Regions from separate parts of the Homo sapiens genome. Here region 1 is linked to region 2. Evidence: promoter capture Hi-C in human tissues and cell types (Jung and others, 2019). All regions are on one chromosome and are shown on one strand. Each heading gives the region's core, a stretch centred on a gene start or on the middle of the fragment in contact. The rest is flanking DNA. Distances are from core to core; before and after follow the strand shown. Region 1 overlaps LOC105371240 (a long non-coding RNA gene). Region 2 holds the start of C16orf78 (chromosome 16 open reading frame 78).

The links. Contacts are between HindIII fragments. The study calls those that stand out against the background at their distance.
Region 1: a contact is called between a fragment that was not itself captured here and the fragment with the promoter of C16orf78 in region 2, in 1 of the 25 tissues and cell types used here (dorsolateral prefrontal cortex).

The regions. Positions count from the first base shown.
Region 1 is chr16:48,724,323-48,728,434 of GRCh38, forward strand. The region is part of intron 1 of LOC105371240 (a long non-coding RNA gene); the gene reads left to right. It also overlaps the pseudogene KLF8P1. Among named protein-coding and RNA genes, the nearest start is that of N4BP1, 120 kb to the left of the region's middle. The HindIII fragment of the contact is 3,311 bases long and covers 247-3,557 here.
Region 2 is chr16:49,371,189-49,375,207 of GRCh38, forward strand. C16orf78 (chromosome 16 open reading frame 78) reads left to right here and starts at 2,616. Exons shown (of 5, transcript NM_144602.4): 1 at 2,616-2,901. The coding sequence starts at 2,752. LOC105371244 (a long non-coding RNA gene) reads right to left here. Exons shown (of 8, transcript XR_001752167.2): 8 at 1,136-3,742. RefSeq lists enhancers at 2,069-2,799, 2,800-3,530. The HindIII fragment of the contact is 5,141 bases long and covers 1-4,019 here.

The DNA.
Region 1 (4,112 bases), core at 652-3,151, 650 kb before region 2:
TGTTAGACCCCAAACCATAAAAACCCTAGAAGAAAACGTAGGCAATACCTTTCAGGACATAGGCATGGGCAAAGACTTCATGACTAAAATACCAAAAGCAACGGTAACAGCAGCCAAAATAGACAAACCGGATCTAATTAAACTAAAGAGCTTCTGCACGGCAAAAGAAACTATCATCAGAGGGAACAGGCAACCTACAAAATGGGAGAAAATTTTTGCAATCTACCCATCTGACAAAGGGCTAATATCCAGAATCTACAAAGAACTCAAACAAACCCTTTATGAGAAAAAAACAAATAACTCCATCCAAAAGTGGGCAAAGGATATGAATAGATAATTCTCAAAAGAAGACATCTATGCAGCCGATAAACACATGAAAAAATGCTCATCATCACTGGCCCTCAGAGAAATGCAAATCAAAACCGTAATGAGATACAATCTCACACCAGTTAGAACAGCAGTCATTAAAAAGTCAGGAAACAACAGATGCTGGAGAGGATGTGAAGAGATAGGAAGGCTTTTACACTGTTGGTGGGAGTGTAAATTAGTTCAACCATTGTGGAAGACAGTGTGGTGATCCCTAGAACTAGAATTACCATTTGACCCAGCAATCCCATTACTGGGTATATACCCAAAGGATTATAAATCATGCTACTATAAAGACACATGCACACGTATGTTTATTGTGGCACTATTCACAATAGCAAAGACTTGGAACCAACCCAAATGTCCATAAATAATAGACTGGATTAAGAAAATGTGGCACATATACACCATGGAATACTATGAAGTCATAAAAAGGATGAGTTCACGTCCTTTGTAGGGACATGGATGAATTAGGAGAAATACCTAATGTAAATGATGAGTTGACGAGGGCAGCTAACCAACATGGCACAAGTATACCTATGCATCAAACCTGCACGTTGTGCACATGTACCCTAGAACTTAAAGTATAATAAAAAAAATTGTAGTGTGTTCTTTTCTTTGATCCTTGGATGAAACAATAAAGCCTAAGACCATGGCACATCACTCCATTTAGCTTTAGTCATTCCCCATTGATGGATGTTTAGGTTGTTTCTAGTCTTTCTGCAACATAACACAGTCTTGAAATCAGCTAAGGAATAGAGATTTGTTGGTTTCTTTTGCAGGAGAGACAATGAAAGGAATGTGTATCATACCCTTGCTTTTTTCCTCTCTACAACATTCATTCCTTATACTTTTAAAAACAGAATCTTGTTTTTCCTTTGGAGAACTACCCTTCACTCACTTTCTGGCTGACCCTACTTCTGGTTTCAAGGATGAGATGTGACTAAAGCCCAACCAATCAGAAGCACTATTTTTACATTTATCAAAATAAATAGATAAGTCTTCCATCTTCTCTCTGTTTAGCTGACATGGACATGCCTTTCACCTGTCCAGTGATTGGTTCATGGAAGATCATGTGACCAAGCTTAGGGAAAGATAGTCAGACCTGAGACTTCTGCAGAAACTGCTGGGACCAGGGCTCCATCTTCCCAATGAAAATGTGGAGCTAGTGGGCGGGCTGGAAGGGAAGAGGTACTAGAAACAGGAAGACCAGGTATGAAAGGAATGTACTGCAATGGTGGCTGCAGTGTGGCTATACTGCAATGGTGGCTGTACTGCAATGGTGGCTGCAGAACTGTGGAAGAGGAGTTAACAAGAAGTTTATTTTACAGAAAATTCAGAGCAGTTGGCTAAACTGCAGAGAGGGCCAGAAGAAGTAGGAGGAAGAGATTCAGCATGACTCTGAAGGTTTTGGGTTTGGAGAACTGAAGAATGAAGCTACTTGAATGAATGTGGGTATTGAGAGATGAAGCTTGCTGGGTGGGTAAACTGGCTGTTTGCCTGTCCTTTTCCCATCTGATCTTTGTCACAGGGAGCTACATTTCCCAGCGTCCTTTGACATTTAGTTCAGGAAAGCATTTTTGGAAGACTGAAGAGTGAGGGAGAGGAGAAGCTGGAGAATATTCCTCCTCCTCTCTCTGTTTCTAGTAGAATGGCTTGAGGTGTCTACCTCTCATCTCTGATTCCATTTGTAGCCAGACAGCCTCTCTTTACTTGGTTTTATTTCCAACAGGCAGCTCCTGCCATGATTTTAGGGTCTGCTGGACAGCTGCAGCTTTCAGGCTCTGGTAATTCCAACCTTTTTTGCTGTCCCTCCATCCTTAGGGTTGGTGTCATATTCCTTCTGTGGTTGATCTCTGGGTTGCCTCAATGTCTTCTGCTTGACTTCTTGGACCTTCCATCACTGGAGTAGTCAATTGCTTGTATTAAGTTCTCTCCATTTGGAACACCTAGTAGGGTTTCTGTTTTTGCTGGATGAATCCTAATTGATAGATTGAAGAAGCGGAAGGAGGGAGAAGACATGGGCGGAATGTGGGTTGGTGCACAGACAAGAAGGAAAGGTATGAAAAAACACAGGTCTGGGACTTACTTGCAAGATGGGAGGTGCTCAAGGAGAATGAGTTTAGAAGGGGAGGAAGGCAAGGACGGGACCTAGGGATAGTTCCACATAACTCATGAATGATGCTGAGGCATTAGCCAAGGTGGCTTAGAAGTGATAGCTTTCAGAGATGTAAGAGAACCAAATGTAGTCTTACTGTAACTAGGGAAGAATTTTAAGGAAGTTCGTGAGAGAGGAGGGTAAGAGTCACGGTCAGAAAGATCACTTGATTGATATGTGGGGGTCAAAAAGAATGAGGGCATTAAACAGACAGTCTGGTTCTAGTCTAAGTTAACTTGACCATAGTGCTATACCATTTAAAGCAAGAAGTTAGGAAGGGAAAAATGTAGAGAAATGGGAAATTCAAGGTTGATATTGGGGAGATGACTAATACTTTTGTTATGGGGTAGCTACATTATGAAAACTTTTTGCTATAAACTATGTGGAAGAGTGTGACTTGGCTCATGGTGCTGCCAAATTCACTTAGTCATGAACTCTGGCTTTGAAAAAATATGAAGAAGTCTTTATGACCTCTGGTTCATTGTCTGCTATAGAAGCTTAACTGTAGAGATTGACACCTGTCTTAGTCTGTTCAGGCTTCTGTAACAAAATACCTTAGACTTGGTGTTTTATAAAGAATGAACGTTTGTTTGTCACAGTTCTGGAGGCTGGAAAGTTCAAGATTAAGATGCAGTGGATTCAGAGTCTGGTAAGGGGTCACTCTCTGCTTCCAAGATGGTGCCTTGTTGCTGTGCCTTTGCATAGTGGCAGATGAATACTGTGTCCTCACATGCAAGGAGGGCTAAAAGGGGCATACTTGGTCCCTCAAGACATTTAATAAAGGCAATAATCTGGTGGGACCTTCATGACCTAATTACCTCCTAAAGGCCCCACTTCTTAATACTATTGCATTGAGGATTAAGTTTCAACAAGAATTTTGGAGAAACGCAAACACTCAAACAATAGCAATACAAAAAGAAAGCTACCATAAGTCATAGGCCCATGGACTCTTGGAGATGGAAAGGGTCATTTTACAAAGGGTCAAATGGAGGCCCAGAGAGACTCAGGCATTTGAGACCACGTGGGCTGCACTGAAGAAAAGTCATTTTTAACATAATCCAAAGTCATGGAACCAGAAGAGCTGTCTCTCTCTCTTTTGCACATAATCTTGACTTCTTCAGAACTGGGATTCATCTTTCCAATGCAGGACAGTGGGAAGCCCAGTACAAGACTCAATAAATGTTGGGTGATTTAATACACAAATGGTGAGGAAGAGGTGATGAGTCTGACAGCCTGTGGACTTCAGAGTTGGAGGATTCCATGGAAAGACATCTCAGGGAAAAAAGTGACACCATTTCCTGAATTGAAATCTTCCATAGCATTAAACAAGCCTGGGCAGCATAGATAGACCCTGTCTCTAATATATATATATATATATGTATATATATATATAATTTTTTTTAAATAGCTAGGCATGGTTGTGCATGCCTGTAGTCCCAGCTACTTGGGAGGCTGAAGTGGGAGGATCACTTGAGCCTTGGAGGTTGAGGCTGCAGTGAGCTGAGATAGCACCACTGCATTCCAGCCTTGGTGACCAAGCGAGACCCTGTCTCAAAAATAAATAAATAAGCTTTTCTGGGGTAGCCAC
Region 2 (4,019 bases), core at 1,366-3,865:
TAGTAGAACTTGTCTCTGAGTTTTCCTAGATTCTGTATTTAGCAAAGATTTCAAATAGCTACTCTAAATATGCTCAAAGAACTGTTTAAATTTGTAAATAAAATTATGATAATAAACAATCAACAGAGAAAGATTCTAAATAAGGAGATAGAAATTATAAAGAAAGAAATGGAAATTCTGGTGTTGAAAAGCATAAATTACAATTTTACTGTGAAGATCTATTACAACAGATTATATATGGCAGAGGAAGAGATCAATGAACTCGAAGATAGAGTGATAGAAAGTATCTATCTGAGGAAGACAGAGAAAAAAAATGTTTGAAGTAAAAGGAACAGAACCATAGGGGCCAGTGGGACAACATCAAGCCAACAGATGTATAATGAGAAAACCAGAAGTAGAAAATAAAAAGGAAGGAGCAGAAAACATATGGAAAAACCAGTGGCCAAAAACTTTCAGAATTTGACTTAAAAAAAAATTAAATACACATCCAAAATGTTCAATAAACCTCAAGTAGGATAAATATGTAGAGATCCACACCTAGACAAATCATAGGCAAGCAGTCAGAAGACAGAAAGAAATAGAAAAACAAGCAAGAGAAAAATGACTTATTACTACAAGAGGCAAAAATGCAGTTAACAGCTGGCTTCCCATATAAAACAATAGAGGGCAAAAAGCAATCAAATGAAAAAACTGTTAACCAAGAGTTCCATTATCCAGAAAATCTTTCTTCAAGAATGAAGGTAAAATAAAGACATTACCATATAAACAAAGACAAAATAATTCATTATTTCTAAAATCTTACAAATATATTGCAAAATTAATAAATCCAGATGTAAAATATCACATGCATATTATTTGGTTTATATTTAACTCAATAACAGGAAGAAAAAGTTTGATATTGGATAATAAGGCCGGACACGGTGGCTCACGCCTGTAATCCCAGCACTTTGTGAGGCCGAGACAGGTGGATCACGAGGTCAGGAGTTCAAGACCAGCCTGGCCAACATGGTGAAACCCCGTCTCTACTAAAAATACAAAAATTACAGTGCGCCTGTAATCCCAGCTACTCAGGAGGCTGAGGCAGGAGAATCGCTTGAACCTGGGGGACGGAGGTTGCAGTAAGCCGACTCTAGCCTGGGTGACAGAGCGAGACTCTGTCTCAAAAAAAAAAAAAAAGAAATTGGATGATAAGATGATGTTTACCCTTGGAGGGTGGTAATAACTACCAGGGGCTGTATGGAAGATTCTGGGGTACTGGTTACATAGATGTCTTCATTTGTGATTCTGGCACATTTTTGTATATATAATTTCCTTCAATAGAAGTTTACTAGAGCAAAAAAGGGAAGCCTGACCATGCCACTCCCTCCCCTTTTTTTGAATTCCTTTATTGTTTTCCTTTGCTCCCTTTCCCTTCCCAGTCTGAGCAGAACCTGTGGCTACCAAGTTCCTGGATGGCCTGGCCTCTGGCCACCTCTGTACCATTGCCTCTTTGCCTCTGGTACTCTAGTCACCCTTGCCTTCTGTTGTTAGTGCCATGCCTCCCGCTTGTCACAGGGCCTTTGCACAGGCATATTTCTCTGGTCCAAAGCCCTTATCTTAATCCATTTGGGCCTATGACAAAATACCACAAAGTGGGTAGCTTATAAACAACAAACATTCATTTATCACATTTTTGAAGCCTAGGAAATCCAAAATTAAGGCTCTGACAGATTCCGTTGTCTGCTGAACCCATTTCCTGGTGACACCTTCTCACTACATCTTCACATGGTGGAGCTCTCTCTAGTCTCTTCTGCAAGGGCACCAATTCCAATCATGAGAGAACTGCTCTCATGACCTAATTACCTCCCAAGACCCCACCTTTTAATGCCATCACCTTGGGGGTTAGGATTTCAGCACATGAATTTTGGAGGGACAGAAATGTCCAGACCATAACAGCCCTGTTGAAGTCTATTTATCCTTTAGCTCAGAGCTCAAAGGTGGCCTACCCACCACCCCATCCAAGTCTAGTACCATTGATATGGCCTTTCATAGAACTACATTCCTTTCTTTGAAAGCACTCATCTTCACTTGTCATTATGAATTCATACGGTAATTATCTGCCCTGTCTTTTCCACTAGCCCATATGTCTTAGGAGGTTTGCCTATGTTTTTTTCCTGCATTGTATCCCCAGCACCATTCCCAATACTTAGTAGGTGCCTGATAACCACATGTTGGATGAATAAATGAATATAGACGAATTGGGCTTATAAAAAGCTTTCTTCTAATTAGAGTACACTACAGAAAGATAGGATGCCAAACTAAAGAATTCAGATTTCTTTTAGATAGGCAACAAGGAGCCATTGAAGGTTTTTGAGAAAGGAAGATGCGTGGACAGACCTTTATTTTATTAAGATCTCTGTGGAGGTAGAGGTGGAGAGGCTGCAAGGAGGCTGTGGCAGAGTCCAGAGGAGACATAGCGCCTGAAGAGGGGTAGTGGCCACATGGAGAACAGTGGGAGGTGGCCAATGTCCCACCTCCACTCTGACCTCAGGGCCAGCTACCAAGACGGGCAATGACTTCACAATCACTGCCCAGGCCTTCCACCTTTTAAGGCCAATATCCCAGGGTCTTGGCTCACTCTGCCCTTTATGTTCACATCTGGAGGCCACACCCTACCTTCTAAGTCACCAGGCCATCAAGTCCAGACAAAGGGATCGAAAGAGTGAGACAGTGCCAGCCACCTCCCACCCAAGCCACTAGCAAGACTCCACAATGTCAGAGCAACAAATGGACCTGAAGGATTTAATGCCCACAAAGAGGAAATACATGTGGAAGACTGCTGAAGATAGGCGCATGTCTGACCTCACCTGTGTGCTGGAGTGGCTGGAGCGGAGGCAGGGGAAGAAGAAACAAGCTCCCGAGGTGGGTACCATCCAAGAGAAATGGCAGGAAGACTTTACTCAAGGTAGTTGCAGTAGGGGAGAGAGATTGAACTTAACTCTCCTGAAACAAAAGGCGGGATGGTTTTGAAGTGCTGGGATAAGCTAGTGAGAACTACCCAAGGACATTAAGGGGGTGGGGGAATTAGTTAATATGATTAGGCTGTCTGTGTTGCTAATTCGCACTTATAAATGTTAGGCTCCCATCCTCTCACAGAGACTGAGAGACAAGGTACAATCTTTCTTGATGATTACATTTCAAAGGGTCCTCCCAGGTCCTTGAGAAAAACATTCCTGGATTGTAAAACTAGCAAGAGACTGAGAGATTTACATCTCAAAGGGGCAGAGAAAAAATTTACAAATCCAAGTTTTCTAGAGGAAATGCTCTAAGGAAAAGGAGGCCAAGGGCCTATCATCAGGAAGAAACCTGTCTAAAGTTTAGTCAAGCTGGGCAAATGTTAGTATTGGTCAGAATTCTAGAAGGGCCAAGGGGCAGTGGCTTCTGGGTCTCCATATTGCAGGATGGGATCCTCCTACTGCCCTCAGCTCTTCTCTCCTTGTGATGCCTTCAGAATCAAAGAACATTCATTCCTCACTGCCATTACTGCAACTGCAACTCCAGCTAACATACCTCCTCTTTTCTACCCTACATCGAGCTAGTTCTAACCCACCCTTTCCTCTTTCTCCAAGAAATGTAGCAACCAAGTTTGCCTTAGTTTTTCCCAGAGCTCCCCCAAGACCTATCATCTATGAAGAACCAAGCCATGTCTTTGGAAAGTGGTGTCCTCTGCAGAAGATGCCACCTGGTCTTGAATCTCCTGACCCTAGAGCAAAATGAGTAAAAAATGCCATTACTAATAACAATGCTCAACACATCACTAACTTTTAATGTTTACTGTGGTCAAGGCCCTGTGCTTAGATTTGTACCTGGGTTATGTGGTCAATTGCTCCCAGTCAGGCTACCAGGGAGGCACCATTTTTACCCCTAGTTGAAGGATAAGGAAAGTGAAAATAAGTCATTTTATTGAAGTCACAGAAGTAATAAAGGGCAGAGCCAGGGCTCAAACTGAGGTTTTCCAATTCCCAAATGCATAGACTCCT